3 separate regions of the Homo sapiens genome follow, and regions 2 and 3 are each linked to region 1. Evidence: promoter capture Hi-C in 16 types of primary human blood cells and fetal thymus (Javierre and others, 2016). All regions are on one chromosome and are shown on one strand. Each heading gives the region's core, a stretch centred on a gene start or on the middle of the fragment in contact. The rest is flanking DNA. Distances are from core to core; before and after follow the strand shown.

Region 1 (4,604 bases), core at 2,105-4,604:
CAGAAAGAAAAATCTTATGGGTCCCTATTAGGGAGGTAGCATTACTCAGCAAGTGTGGATTCTGGAACTCAAAAATGAGAAGGCAGCTTGCCAAGTAAACAGGATGTAGTGGATGGTGAAAAGCGTGTATGGGTGTGTATGAAGAAAAATGAATGGAATTGTCAATAACAATGCTACACTTGCAGCCTGGAAAGAGTAGGAGAGTGCAGCGCGGGCCTCAGCATCTGTGTTGGCCCAGTCTCTTGGTTGATTATCAGAGCACCTGAGCTAGCCAGGCCTCTGTCCTGTCCTAGGTCCAGAACGTGCACACTCACTCCCTCAGCACTGAGGTTTCAGCAAAATTTAATGCCTCAGCCCCACGCATTGCCCGAGAAAGCACTGGGCATTAAAGATCAGCGGGAGGCCACAGGATCACTTTTGGCCAGGAGTCTGAGAACAGCATGGGTAACATGGCTAGACCCCCTCTCTAAAAAATATAAAAAATAAAAGAATTAGCCAGGCATGATGGCCTGTGCCTGTAGTCCCAGTTACTCCAGAGGCTGAGGTGGGAAGCTCAGTTGAGCCCAGGAAGTTGGGGCTGCAGCAAGCTGTGATCCAGTCACTGCGCTCCAGCCTTTAATTCATTAAAAAAAGAAAAAAAATGGAGACCACTGTTTATGCAAGATATTTGATTTCAAATACAGGCGTGGACAAAAGGTTAGGACCCTTTCACCTTCCTTATGAGTTCCTTCCTAATTTCCTGTGTCCCATAAAAGGACTACTTGTTTAGCAACGTAGCCCCTTCCTTGGCAGGTTACAAAATCCCAGTGTCCTGGGAAACTGTTCTGGGCAAAGAGGACAGAAGAGGGCAGGTGAATGAGAGCATTTATGGTAAAACCAAGTTTTCTCTGCCTTCAAACTGTGATTGAGAAATGCAGTAACTTTCTACAAATAATTTTAAATGTTGCCACTTTCTTTGTAGAACTGTGTCATCTTCACGAATAACGCATATTTTGGATGTAAAGAAAGTGCCATCCAACCATAAGAAAGATTCCAACATTCAACTGTCAACTCTTGCGACTGGTCCTTTTGCAAGACCTCCACCCTCTCCTCTATAGATGACCCGGATCCCCAAAAGCGTTTTCCAAGCATTCTGTCATCTGCATATCCCTCTGTTGAGCAGCCTCACTGATCTTTGAACTCTTTTGCTTCCTTAAGGCTGGAGAATTTCTTCCTCAACTCCACGACGAACATTGCCCACCACCTCCCACCCCGCGCTGGCACGAGCACCTCACGTGGGTCACAGGACTCCCGCGGGACCTTCTGCGTGTTTCCCCTTGATCTTTTTACAAGTAGGTGCGTGGGCGGATACTCACCAATCTCCCTTCATCCGCTCACCTCTCTCCCTTTGCTCAAGCTTGCAGCTCCTCTCACAGGCCTCCAGCTCTGCTGGACTTGGCGTATTCAGAGGCGCGCAGCCTCTCTGTCCTCTTCCCTCTCCCCCATTTCTTCTGTCCTCCGCCTTCTCGTCTCCCTACTCTCTTCTGTCCCCTCATTCTCTCTCCTGCCTCTCTTTTCTCTCCCCGCTCCTCTTTTCCCTTTCTTCTCTCTCTCCTTTCTCTCTCTCTTACCCTGTCCATGTCTTCCCCCTTCTCTCAGCTTTCTCTCTTTAGGTCTCCATCTCGCTCTACTCCCGGGTTGACCCATGACCCAACTTTCATTACACGGATGCACAACACGCGCGCGCGTATATGCGCGCGCACACACAAACACACCATCCCCTTTGCTCGGTCACTTTACCCCACCCTGGAAATCGAGGAACCAGCACTTTGGTGTGGTGGTAGGAGGCTTGGGGGCGCGTGTGAGACTCTGAATCCCTTCCAGACTTGGGGGTCACCTCATCGTCCCTCATCCCAACTTACTGGCAGGAGACCTCCACCCACTCACAGCCGCTGCGCTAGGCGTGGGCAGGACTGCGACGAGCACCCAACGCCCCGCGCAGCCCCGCGCGCACGTGGGCGCCCCAGCAGCAGGTGCCGGGAAGCGGAGGCCGGGCCAGAGCCGGGAGGCAGCCCCCCGGCCTCGAGCGCTCGCCAGACTCTTCTCATGGCCCTTTCTCCTTTCCTCGGCCTTTCGGGGCCACCCTAGTCTTCACAGCTCAGCGTCTGCTGCTGACCCCCCGCCCCCCGGCGACCCCGCCATTGCCATTAGCTCTTCCTACCCCGGCTTCTTCGCCGCCACAGTCCCCAACCCAAGCCCCAGCCGCGGCGCGGGTGTGGGTGGCCGGACGGGATGGCTTCCGTAGTCCCGGGGTCCGGCGGGCTCGGCTGTGGTCTGCGTGGGTCGCGTCCGCAGAGGCCGAGGGAGGGCGGGACGGAGCCGGGAAAGGGAGGAGGTGCCGTTGCGGCGCCCAGGGAGGGACTCCCTGCACCCCCGCGCGCTCCAGCCCTTCCCGGCGCTGCCTCGCGGTTGCCCTTATTTCGTATTCATTGATTCGCATTTTACAAGCCCGGGCTCTTCCGGTGCTGTTTCCCCGCAACTCGTGTCTCCCAGACTTTAACGCGCCGCGCGAGCCTGTAGGAGGAAGTGGCGCGGGGGAACGGGGGTCCGTGTGTGCCTTGGGGTGGTTTTAAATACCTCGAGGTGGGGGGCTCAATTGCAAGAAGCCCGCGTCTTTGCAGGAGTAATTTGGTGGGGGGACTGGACATCAGGCCCAGTGCTCAACCGCGAAACTTTTACGGCCGCCTTTCCCTGGGGCGCGCCCCTGCCGTGTCTCCCAAGCTGAGCGCGGAGTCCGCGGCGAAACCTGCGCCCCAGGGAGGGAGGGAGAGGGGGCGCCCAGTTCCTTTACGCGGATGGAAAAGAAGGGGTGGGAGGCAGAGAGCCCGCAAGGTCTAACCTTTAAAAAGTGAAACACCAAACCCCACAAGGGATTTTCACACGAAGGCCCCTCCCGCTTCCACGCCTTCCGTCCGGCACGAGGATCCGGCTCGGGATTTGCGGCTGCATCCTCTCTCTGCGCCCTGGCGGGCCGAGCCGCGGATCCCAGCCGGGTCCTCACCCCCTCCCCGCCCCTCCCCCAGATCCGCGCGGCTGGGATGTCCTTGCTGCCGCCGCCGCGGCCCCATTCTGCCGCGCACCAGCCCCGGGGCGCCGGCCGCGCGCAGCCTCGCTATCCCACCCAGGCTCCGGGCTTCCAGGAGGGTCGTGGAGCCCCAAGCCATGACTAAGGAGCCCATTTGGTAACTCTGCCCTCTTCCGGCTCCTTTCTCCTCCCTCCCTTCCCCGCCCCCCGGCCCCCCCCCCGGCCGCCCCGCTCCCCTGCACCGCCCTCCAGCCCGCCTCCCAGACGCCCACCCACCCGCTCCTCTTTCCGCAAGATAGCAGAGGTGGCGCGCAGCCCGGCGAGCCGATGACGGACCCCTTCTTCCTGCCTTCAATGCCTCAGCGGAAGATCCCCAAGGGCTGGAGCGAGGAGCGCTGCCGCTGGACATCCTCCCGGGGAGGCTGCTCCGACCTGCTGCGCGGCGCGTCTGAGACTGGGGACTGAGCCACCCCGCCGCCGCCGGCGCCGCCGCCGCCGCCCGCTCCGTCGCTGCCGTCGGTCTGGACTGGCCCCCACCTCGCTGCGCCCTCTCCCCGGCCCCGGCCCCGGCTCGGGGCGTCCCGGGGCTCGCCCTGCGACCGCCGCCTCCCGCGCGCCGCGTCCTCCCGACCCCGCGGCGGCGACGATGCCCGGGAGGAGGGTCCTGACGGCGGCGGCGCGGATGGTGGCGGCCGGCGCCCGGGTGTGATGCGAGCGTCACGGTGGGGATGCTGCTGGCTGCGCGGCGCTGAGGGCCAGCGAGAGCGAGAGCCCGCCCGGGGCGGAGGACGGACTCATCCGGATCTGGCTGCAGCGTGGGCTCGGAGCTCCCCCTTCCTCTCGGTCTCCCTCTCGGCCCCCCTTTATTTCCTTCTTGCTTTGCGTCTTTAACACCTCTCGACCCTGTCCTCCCCCCGCCACTGGAAGTCTTCCCGTCTCTAAATGGAATTAGTGGAGCCCGGAGCCTCTGGTGTAACGCACAGACATGATCCATGGGCGCAGCGTGCTTCACAGTGAGTACCCTCCCCGCCGCGCCCGTGCGCTCCCGGAGCCAGCCCTCCCGCCCCTTTCCCGGGGCCGAACGCGCAGGAAAAGCCTCTGCGCCGCGCTCCGGCGGACCCTGCAGTCCCGCGCGGGTCGGGGCCGACGTAAACTTTCTGTATTGCAGCATCGTGGAACCGGGCGTGGGGGCGGCGCGCGGTCAGCCGTCGCCGGATCCCAAAACCTGCCGGAGAACGGTCTTTCAGTGCGCAGGAACCCCCCGGGGGTGGAGGATAGCGTGCAGTTCAGGGATGGACACGTGCGGCAGAGATTGGCCCAAGCGAGGGCGCAGGTGGAAAGCGGGAGAGCGCGGATGATACCTAGTGGGGCCAGAGGAGTCTTCCTCTTCTAGGGGCTCCCGGAGCTCGGCGGGCCCCTGTTCGCAGTACAGGAGGTAGCAGAAGGCACACCTGAAGCCAGCGCTGGAGGGAAGGGCGAGGGTCAGCTTCCACCCCTTTCCGCCCTGGAGACCGCTGATGTCGCTTTATGGGTGTGTGGT
Region 2 (4,604 bases), core at 720-3,219, 240 kb before region 1:
ACCATTCAAAAAATTAATTCAAAATGGATCTTAGTCCTATGTGTAAAACACAAAACTATGTAACTTCTACAAGATAACAACAGAAAAAATTCTAACTGACTTTGGGTATACTGATGTCATTTTAGATACAATACCAAAAGGTATTGGTTATCAAGGTAACATGATAAGCTAGACTTCATCAAAATTAAAAATGTTTGCTTTGTGAAAGGCAATGTCAACAGAAATAAAAAAAAAACTACCTACTTGGAGAAAATATTTTCATAAGATCATTTGAAGTATTGCTATCCATGTCTCCAAAAGCTCTTAAAACTTGTTTATAATAAAATGAACAACATGATTTAAAAATGGGTCAAACTGACTGACCAACATGGAGAATCCCCGTCTCTACTAAAAATACAAAATTAGCCTGGCGTGGTGGCACATGCCTATAATCCCAGATACTCGGGAGGCTGAGGCAGGAGAATCACTTGAACTCGGGAGGCGGAGGTTGCGGTGAGCTGAGATCACCTGATTGCACTCCAGCCTGGGCAACAAGAGTGATACTCTGTCTCATTTAAAAAAAAAAAAATTGGCCAAACTATTCAACAGATATCTCACCAAAGAAAATATACACATGGAAAATAAGGATAGGAAAAGATGTACCACATCTTATGTCACTAGGGAAATGCAAATTAAAACAACATTGAGATACCATTACACATCTATCAGAATTGCCAAAATTTAGAACCAAATGCTGATGAGAGTGTGTAACAACATAAACTGCATTTATTGTTGGCGGAGACACATAGTGGTACAGTCCCTTTGGTACTATGTGGCAGTTTCTTAAAAAACTAAGCATGCTTTGGCCATACAGTTCAGAAATCTCAGTTCTTGATATTTACTCACTTGATTTAAAAGCTTATGTCCAAACGAAAGTGTATACACAGATGTTTATGGCAGATCTATTCATGATTTCCAAAACTGGGAAGCAACCGATATGTCCTTGAGCGGTTAAATGGATAATCTGTGGTGCATTCAGGAAATGAAATATTATTCAGCACTAAAAAGAAATGAAATATCAAGTAATAAAAAGATATGGAGGGACTTTACATGCATATTACTAAGTGAAAGAAGCCATTCTGAGAAGACTACATAATGTATAATTCCAACTATATGGCATTCTGGAAAAGACAGAGGTGTAGATACAAAAAAAAAAAAATAACTGTGGTTGCTAGGGAGTCACAGAGAGAGGGCTGAATAGACAGAGGGCAGAGGATTTTTAGGACAGTAAAAATACTGCATTTAACACAATGATGGGTATAAGTCGTTATACATTTGTTTAAACCCATGGATGTACACAGATTGAATCCTTATGTGATCTAGAGACTATGGTGATTATGATGTGTCAATGTAGGTTCATCAACTGTAGCAAATGCACCACTGTGGTAGGGGATGTTGATAATGGAGGAGGCTCCACATGTGTTGGGGCGAAGGGCATGTGGGAAATGTTTGTACCATTCTCTTAATTTTGCTATGAACTTAAAACTGCTCAAAAAACAAAGAATTTTAAAAATATTTAATTTTTATTTTTAAAGGTAGTTAAACCCATTGAAGCTTTATAACTGGATTTGAGTCTTATGACTTTCAGTAATAGGGTTATCTTGGGCAAGAACTAAAATTTCTGTGCCTCAGTTTCCTCATCTGTAAAATGGGTAAAACAAATCTGTTTCTGAAGACTCTTTGGGTTATTAATTAATCAGTATCAATGCTTAGAATATTATATATGTAATTAATGCTGCTTCTATTATCACCATCATTATTATTATTTTTGAAAATGGGGTAGAACTAACTATCCCTAGGGTTTTTGTGTAAATAATTGGATAAAACAAAATGGAGTAATTAGCACAATACCTCGTGTTGACTCATTCAATAAAAACTTTTTTTCCTCTTTGTGTAGTTCACGCGAATATTTTTAATTCTTCTCATCTTTCCATTTAATGTTACTCTGTGACTTCAGATTTCAAATATTTCTACACATATAAAATCAAATGCATCACTTGTCAAACCAATCCCTCCTCTAAGTTTTTGTGTTTGTCAATGGCATCTCTTGTTTATTTATTTTGAAATATCAAATTCATATTTACTTTTGTATGTTCTCTCTCAATTTTATCTACTCTATCCCTGAGTCCTACAATTTGTAATTATTTTCTCTATTTTTTGAAACATTTTGAGATGTATCTTTTCTCCTCTGTTCTACTGAGAACAACAGTAATAGCTAATATAAACAATGTACTAATTAAGACATTTTTGTTGAATATTGATAAAGTTAATATTTTCGTATAAAGATTAAAATGGATATAAGCTTTTGGAATGAAAGATACTAAAATATTGGATTAATGTCAGTGAGAAATGGTTTTTAAATAGTAACATTTAACTGTTTGAATGAATCAGACAATATGTAATAGTTGGGTAGTCTTTAACAGTTGCTTTTGAGAGGCAATGCAATATTGGAGACTGAAAAGCACATAATTTTATATCTGAGAACTTGATTTTGCATTCAAGGTTTGAAATTTTTGTGTTTTTTGGAGGCGTGGTCTTGGGCCTGGAAAATAACCTGCCTCAGATACAGTTTTCCCAAGGGAAAAGTAAAGATATTTGTAAAACCTGCAGAATAAAATGTGCAATGCAGATTATTGACTTGTTGCGAGGACCAAATATGTAATTAGAACCCTTGACATGTTGTATGTAATTATTCAGAAGCACTGCAAATTACCCTTGCGAAGAAGGTTTTTTTTTTAAAAGTGTTACATTAGAAGTCTCATGATTCATAACTCTGCATGAATATGAGATTTGTTACTTTCCCGTCCATGACTCAAGAAAATGGCTCTTCACATTCACTTTACTGAGAAAAATACCTGACTTGTCTTTTGTGCTCCTTGCTTCAGTAAACTGCGCTACCCATTTGCTCAAACATATCCCTTTCTCCATCATTATCTCTCACATGAATTACTGCAATAGTTTCCTGTCTGGAAATTATACTTTAGTCTCTTTTCAATCTTTTTTCCACCCAGCAGTTTTTGTTCACTTTATTAACCAAAATTGAAAGTGTTGATGCACTATTTAAAACATTTCAAATTTCCCCATTTCTCACGGAATAGTGTATAAAGTTTTATGTATGGCTTTAAAAGATACTTCCTGACGTGACAACTGCATAACTCTTTTAGACTCATCTATTGCTACATACTTTCTTAAACTTTATAATTCAGACATGCCTAAAATGGATAATTATTTTTCTTTCCAGATTTTTCACATGCTATCCACAGCGCCTAGAGATCCAAGCTTTTGTGAACAGGGGCTGACTTGTGAATGTGAACAAGCACAACGGAAAGCTAGGGATCAAGGGTGGGGCGCCTCTGAATTCTGCACTAGAATATGCCCAATCAAAAGCATAGCTGCAGAGTGCAAAATTGTCTGTCTCACTATGGAAGACTGCTTGTCAATAGCAAATGGAGGGGCAGAATAGAGCAAAGGCAGCCCTCAACTGATCAAACTTTTAACTTTTCTCTAAAAACATCCTTTGGAAATAGGTCTATTTCCCCTTTAACAGAATAAACTGCAGGAATTGTTGGACAATGGGTGCATTTGGAAGAGCCACGCGGGAGCACTGAGAAGTGAAATGATCCAGCTCCAAAAATAAAGGTGATACACGTTAAAGTAATAAATTGGAAAAAATAAAATAGATGCAACTCTTAGTTCGCATATCTGGAAAAGCTGGTTATATTGCAAAGACCTTATTGAGAATATTTATGTATATGTGCTACGCATAATAAAGCATTTTGTAACTTACAAAGCATCTTAACAATATTGTTATGGTTAATTTTTATGAGACAAAACTCTATACTTATTGCTGTCTACAAGGGTATATAACACAATCCAAAATTCGAATGAACTCATTGAACAATATTAAGGTACATTTTAAGAAATAGTTGCCTTGTATATCTTTCAAATGAAATTTTGCATCCTGTGGAATTAGAAACGTATGTTCAATAATGACAATGCTAAAGTAAAGTGGTTTGAAATTATCTGTTCATGTTAACACCCAAATCAACAGTAAACTCCCTTCCCTCCTCAATGCAGCATTTCACTTGATAATTAGCAGCTGTATGCTAATTACATTGGGAGCTCTTGATTTCCTGAGTATGCTAATTTAAAGTTCTTTTGAGTGGTGACTTTGTTTCATGGAAGCCCAAAATATAAGCCATATAGAATACGCTATACAGCATATCCTGCCCTCAGTTCCTGGGGAAGAGCCAATCGAGTGCTTCTGTTAATGGTACCTAGTACTAAAGAGGAAAATTGTTAGGATTTGGAGTCACTTTAGCAGTGATTGCAAGATGAGAAATTGAACTAATAAGATTGGGATCCCCACAATGAGCCATGAGCAACCTGAATGCAAAAGGAAAGATGAGAGCCGATCAGCTGTCATGAGAATCAAATTAACATTTGGCTCAGCTATTCGAAGAGTTAAATGTACGAACTGAGCATTTTGAAATGCATCATTTAACTAATGTAAATAGGACGAGAGTTAGATGTCGAGGGACTTCCCAGTTGAAAAAGAAAAGCGT
Region 3 (4,604 bases), core at 748-3,247, 210 kb before region 1:
TAATATTTTGATAAACACTAGAAAGATTAAATTATCTAGACATGCTATTCATGTAATAAGAAATGATGTTAACTAGAATAATATAAACATCGGTTGCCTATAATGGGCAAAATAACATGCCAGTCCCTAGAGGGTGATAAAAAATTATATCATTATTTACTAGGTGTCCAATCCATGTTTGTTTATGAAATAAACAAAATATAATCACATTCTCAAAGGAGCAGAATATCCATGCTGGACTATGTTTATCTCCGCAGTCACCTTCCCTGTGGCCAGTGCTGCCATAATCACCTTTGCAGGCCTAGAGACCCTGGTCTTACCTACACTGTGTATCTCTTGGTTCCACCCTGGATCTCCTTGGCTTCCACTGTGCATTGATGAGATGTCTGGGGGAGCATCTTCAGCCTCATAGCAGGAGTGGAGAATTTCACACCACTGGGCTGATGCCTAAGGTGCCCAGCAACACGGAGCCCATTGCCTGCTGTTCAACAAAGTATGCTGGGCTGGACTGTCTCTCCTTCCAGACTCCATGTTTCCCCATCTCCTGATAACATACCTGCCTACAAGTTTTCGTCTCAGGTTGTGTATTTTGGGAAAACTGAGCATAGTGTCAAATACAGAAACTATACATGTCTAAAACACCTCAAAGAGTAAAAACATATGGGAATTTTTTGAAGGTTAACTCCAGAAAACCAAGTCAGGGTCCAAATAGGAAGAGTAGTCTTGGGTGCAAAGTTCAGTCTGCAATGATTCTCAAGCTATCTTCCATATGTAGGGACAAGGCGATGACCCAAAGAGAGACAGGCAGCAATAGATAAAAAGGAAGTGAAGAACATTATACAATAGTTTTGCAACTTCCATGTGGTATTGAGGCCTCAATAATACCCGAGGTCTTCATAAAACTGGAGCAGCTCCACTTACAAATATTCAGTGGGGGCAGAGGTAGGTTTCTAGCACTTTAATTTCACATATTTATGGAATCTGTTTTTGTTGTTTTAAATTAATTTAACATTTTAAATAATAAACTATTTTAACCTGATACAAAATATGTGAAAAAGGGGGAATAAAGAACGCAGGAAGCTTTTGAGTGAATGTAAATCTTCATTATCCTTGTTGTGGCAATGATGGAAACAAGTGTATTCCTATGTAAAAGCTTATCAAACTGCATTTTTAAATAAATACAGTTATGTCATTTAACCCTTAATAATACTGTTTATGAAAAGATTAAAATGGGACTGTCTCAAAAAAGAAAAAGGAAAAGATATGTGAAGTTACCTGGTATCTACACATAATAAATATTAATATTTTCACATTTTCCATATTTGCTTTAAACATTATTTTCAATGAATTGAAATATTAGCTGTGAAAAATGAATTTTTCAATGAATTATAAACAGCTATAGACATAACTAAAACTCCATCTCCCCAAATTTTTTTTCTCCATCTTCCGTAGTGGTTAGCCACTTGTAAAGCTGCTACTTGTCATCCCAGCATATATATTGTAATATTACTACATATTAATGCATCCATAAAAATATGTGGCATTTTTAATAAATTACATGGATTATACATTTGCTTACTCATTCATTTACTCAACATACGTGTACTCTGCACTTCCTCTATACAGGCATTATTCTAAACAGCTGGTATAAATCAATTAACAAACAAGAAAAATGTCTACTCTTACAAAACTTGGCTTTCAAAGCAATATAACGTGTTACAATGTAGGTTTGCTTATAGTCACATAACTTGGAACCTTATAAAGTGTAAAGCGCCAACTGTTTTATGCCCCGCACTGAAGCAGGCTATGAAGTGGCAGCCATAGCAGGAGATGAAAGTTTGCCTGCTGGCAACACTGAGATTAAGGGTGTTGCCTATTCATCTAAACCCATTGTTTCAATTACCCACTAGGAACTAGCCTAAATTTGAAAGAGGGTGATACCACAGAGCACGGAAGCTAAATGAAAGACACCTATGTGATTAGATCTAGATATGATGTTTTGTTATGATGAGCTGAATAACATTTGATACTTGAAACCAATCAGACCCACAGCTTGCTAGACTCTTGCAGGGTTAAGTACTGCCAAAGCACCCCTAAACCTGGTTTGCAACTGTCCATGACTCTTAATCCCCTAAAATAATCCCCATGTCCCTAAACTCTCACCAAGAGGACGGGTTCAAAGGCTGTATCCTCTGAAGTTCCCTTGTGTGCTGTGGCCAAGGAAAGTGAAGGCAAGGAAGGATCCCCTGAAATGGACAGCCAGAGCCACAGGCAGAAACCACAAGGGAGTTTTGCTAAATGGCACAGTTAGGACAAAGCACAGAGACTCCCTGCCATGCCAGCAAGGAGTCTTCCCTATATCAGTCCAGTGAGATGCCAGCAGCCGTGGAGAAGGGAGTGATGTGTGTTTTCCATGTTCCACCTTCTAGCAGTCCATCGTATTTGCAGATCCCAGTTTTCTGCCATTGTCGGTTCAGAGGTGAGAATTATTGTTCTTTTAGATTATAGCTTGTCAGACAAAGAGAACATGCATTTGTACTTGAGGAAGAAGATTATACATCATCCAGGGCTACAATTTGAGCTGGGACATAAGATACTTAGAAGAGTGGGTCATGAGAAGATTTTAGGAAAAGGAAGGCCAAGAATAGTAACTGCAAAATCTTAGAAGAAGAAATATGTTTTTGTGTGTTAATTTTAGAGGAATAAATATGCTTTTTGTATATTCCTTTTCTTTTTTCTTCTATTTTTAAGAATGAAAAATTATCCAGAGCACACGGAACAAAGAAGGGAGCATGAAATTGTGACACCAAAGTAGGGATTTGCATCCTCTGAGAAGCTTAGGTTCCATTTGTGTAAAGGAAAGCACACACACAAAAAATTGCAATGCAAAGTGTACTTGGTGTCATACAAGGAATGGTTTTTAATGGGCAGGAAGGAAAGCAAAGAGAGACCCTTGCAAAACTGAGGTCCATACCTCAGTGAGAAAGGTTATGGTAGTTTTACCTACAGTTAGTGGTATTGAAGATGGAGAGAAAGGGAATAAAATTTGTTACTCAATTGGGTATGAGAGATGTAGGGAAGAATCTAGATTCATAGGTTTAGGAGTTGAGCAAAATGAGGCCACCGCTTATTCAAATGAAGGTGCCAAGAAAAGTCAGGTGTGTAGGGATTAGGAGGGGTGGAACTGAGAGAATTTTATGTTTTGGATACATTAAAGGTAAGATTCCTTTTAAACACTGCACTGGAAATGCCAAGCAGGTATTTTGGTAATGTTAACACATCGTCGCATAGTCTTTAAAGCCACGCATGGCAATACTATTGCTTAAATAAAAATGTGTATAGAAAAGAGCAGAAATCTCAGAATAAAATTTTGGAGACTCTATTATTTAGAGTTTGGTAAGATTGGTTTGATAACAGTCTTCTAAGAGACTAAAAGGAGTATACAGGAGGAAATTCAAAAGGAAAGGAAATACAGCAAAATGTAATCTTTCAGAAGGCAAGATCTTTTCAAGTAAGAGATGGTACTGAGAGACTGAGAAACAAGACAACTAACAAAACGCAGTGATATGAGTGGCAGGGAGATAATGGAACTTGATGACAGGGTTTTGTAAAATGCAAAGTTCAGCAACTGGATCAGAGATGAATGAAGAGAGAATTTAAAAAAAAAGAAGTGGACATCATCTGTGTGTGGACAAATTGTTCTGTAAGGGGAAAAGGGAAATAGGTTGATTGTGAAAAGAGATGTGGGGTCAAGGGTACTTTAATGCAGTAGAAGGTGGAGCATGTTTTACATACTGATAGCAGTGTTCCAGGAGAAGACAAATAATGGAGGAAGCAAAATGGAGGCTGGTAGATGGGCACCTTCCTGTCCTTGGAACACACAGATTCTAGTTGGCTTTCAAGTCATTTTTTCATCTAGTTTAAACCTTTTTTTGGTAATAAAAGTGTATGTGTGTGCACATGCACACACACACTCACACACACATATATTAATATTCATTGCAACAAAGCTTTCGATTGATCTCCTCCTTGTTTTATAATTGGATTGGCCACAATTGATTGACTATTTTTATTACAAAGATTTGTACAAATCTCTCCAGGGGAAGCATATCAGAAAGTCAGGAAACTGAAAAACATCTGGACATGCTCTGGGTAATACACTATGCAGTGCACACAGAGGACATTTAAAAGAAAGGTCCTTTATGTTATCTAAAATATATTGTAACATTTTAACTAATTATTTTCATTTAAGATTTACATATTTTAATTGAACTAACAGTTCTTTTGGTGCAGGTGAATCGATGTTTTACATTTCACTTATGTAATATTATATAGTTTTTAGATGATGGATGATAAGCAAGAGCTTGAGCATCGAAACCTTTCTATTGTGATCAGCTGATGATTAGGGAAGGCCTCCTGTTTAGGACTCTACACAAATGGACCAAGGAACAGCAGCTAGACTTGACTGTCCCAGTTTGCAGATTCCAAAGCCCCCATACGAAGTAGAAACTCCTTTACTTTTCCAGTTTGGGATTGTGTGAATTCTTTCAAAGCTGCTTAAATCTCTGGAAGCCTTACTGTCAAATGTGCACTTAATCATTGAG

What was found. Contacts are between HindIII fragments. The CHiCAGO score rates a contact against its expected background, and 5 or more counts as called.
Region 2: a contact is called between a fragment that was not itself captured here and the fragment with the promoter of NETO1 in region 1, in 1 of 17 cell types (total B cells). The highest score is 5.2, in total B cells.
Region 3: a contact is called between a fragment that was not itself captured here and the fragment with the promoter of NETO1 in region 1, in 2 of 17 cell types (total B cells and naive B cells). The highest score is 7.0, in total B cells.

What each region holds. Positions count from the first base shown.
Region 1 is chr18:72,866,737-72,871,340 of GRCh38, reverse strand. It overlaps NETO1 (neuropilin and tolloid like 1), which reads left to right and starts at 3,354. Exons shown (of 11, transcript NM_138966.5): 1 at 3,354-4,077. The coding sequence starts at 4,050. It overlaps NETO1-DT (NETO1 divergent transcript), which reads right to left and starts at 2,953. Exons shown (of 2, transcript NR_134648.1): 1 at 2,879-2,953. The HindIII fragment of the contact is 9,933 bases long and covers 1,399-4,604 here.
Region 2 is chr18:73,102,439-73,107,042 of GRCh38, reverse strand. No RefSeq gene overlaps it. Among named protein-coding and RNA genes, the nearest start is that of LINC02864, 160 kb to the left of the region's middle. The HindIII fragment of the contact is 748 bases long and covers 1,596-2,343 here.
Region 3 is chr18:73,076,339-73,080,942 of GRCh38, reverse strand. No RefSeq gene overlaps it. Among named protein-coding and RNA genes, the nearest start is that of LINC02864, 190 kb to the left of the region's middle. The HindIII fragment of the contact is 1,683 bases long and covers 1,156-2,838 here.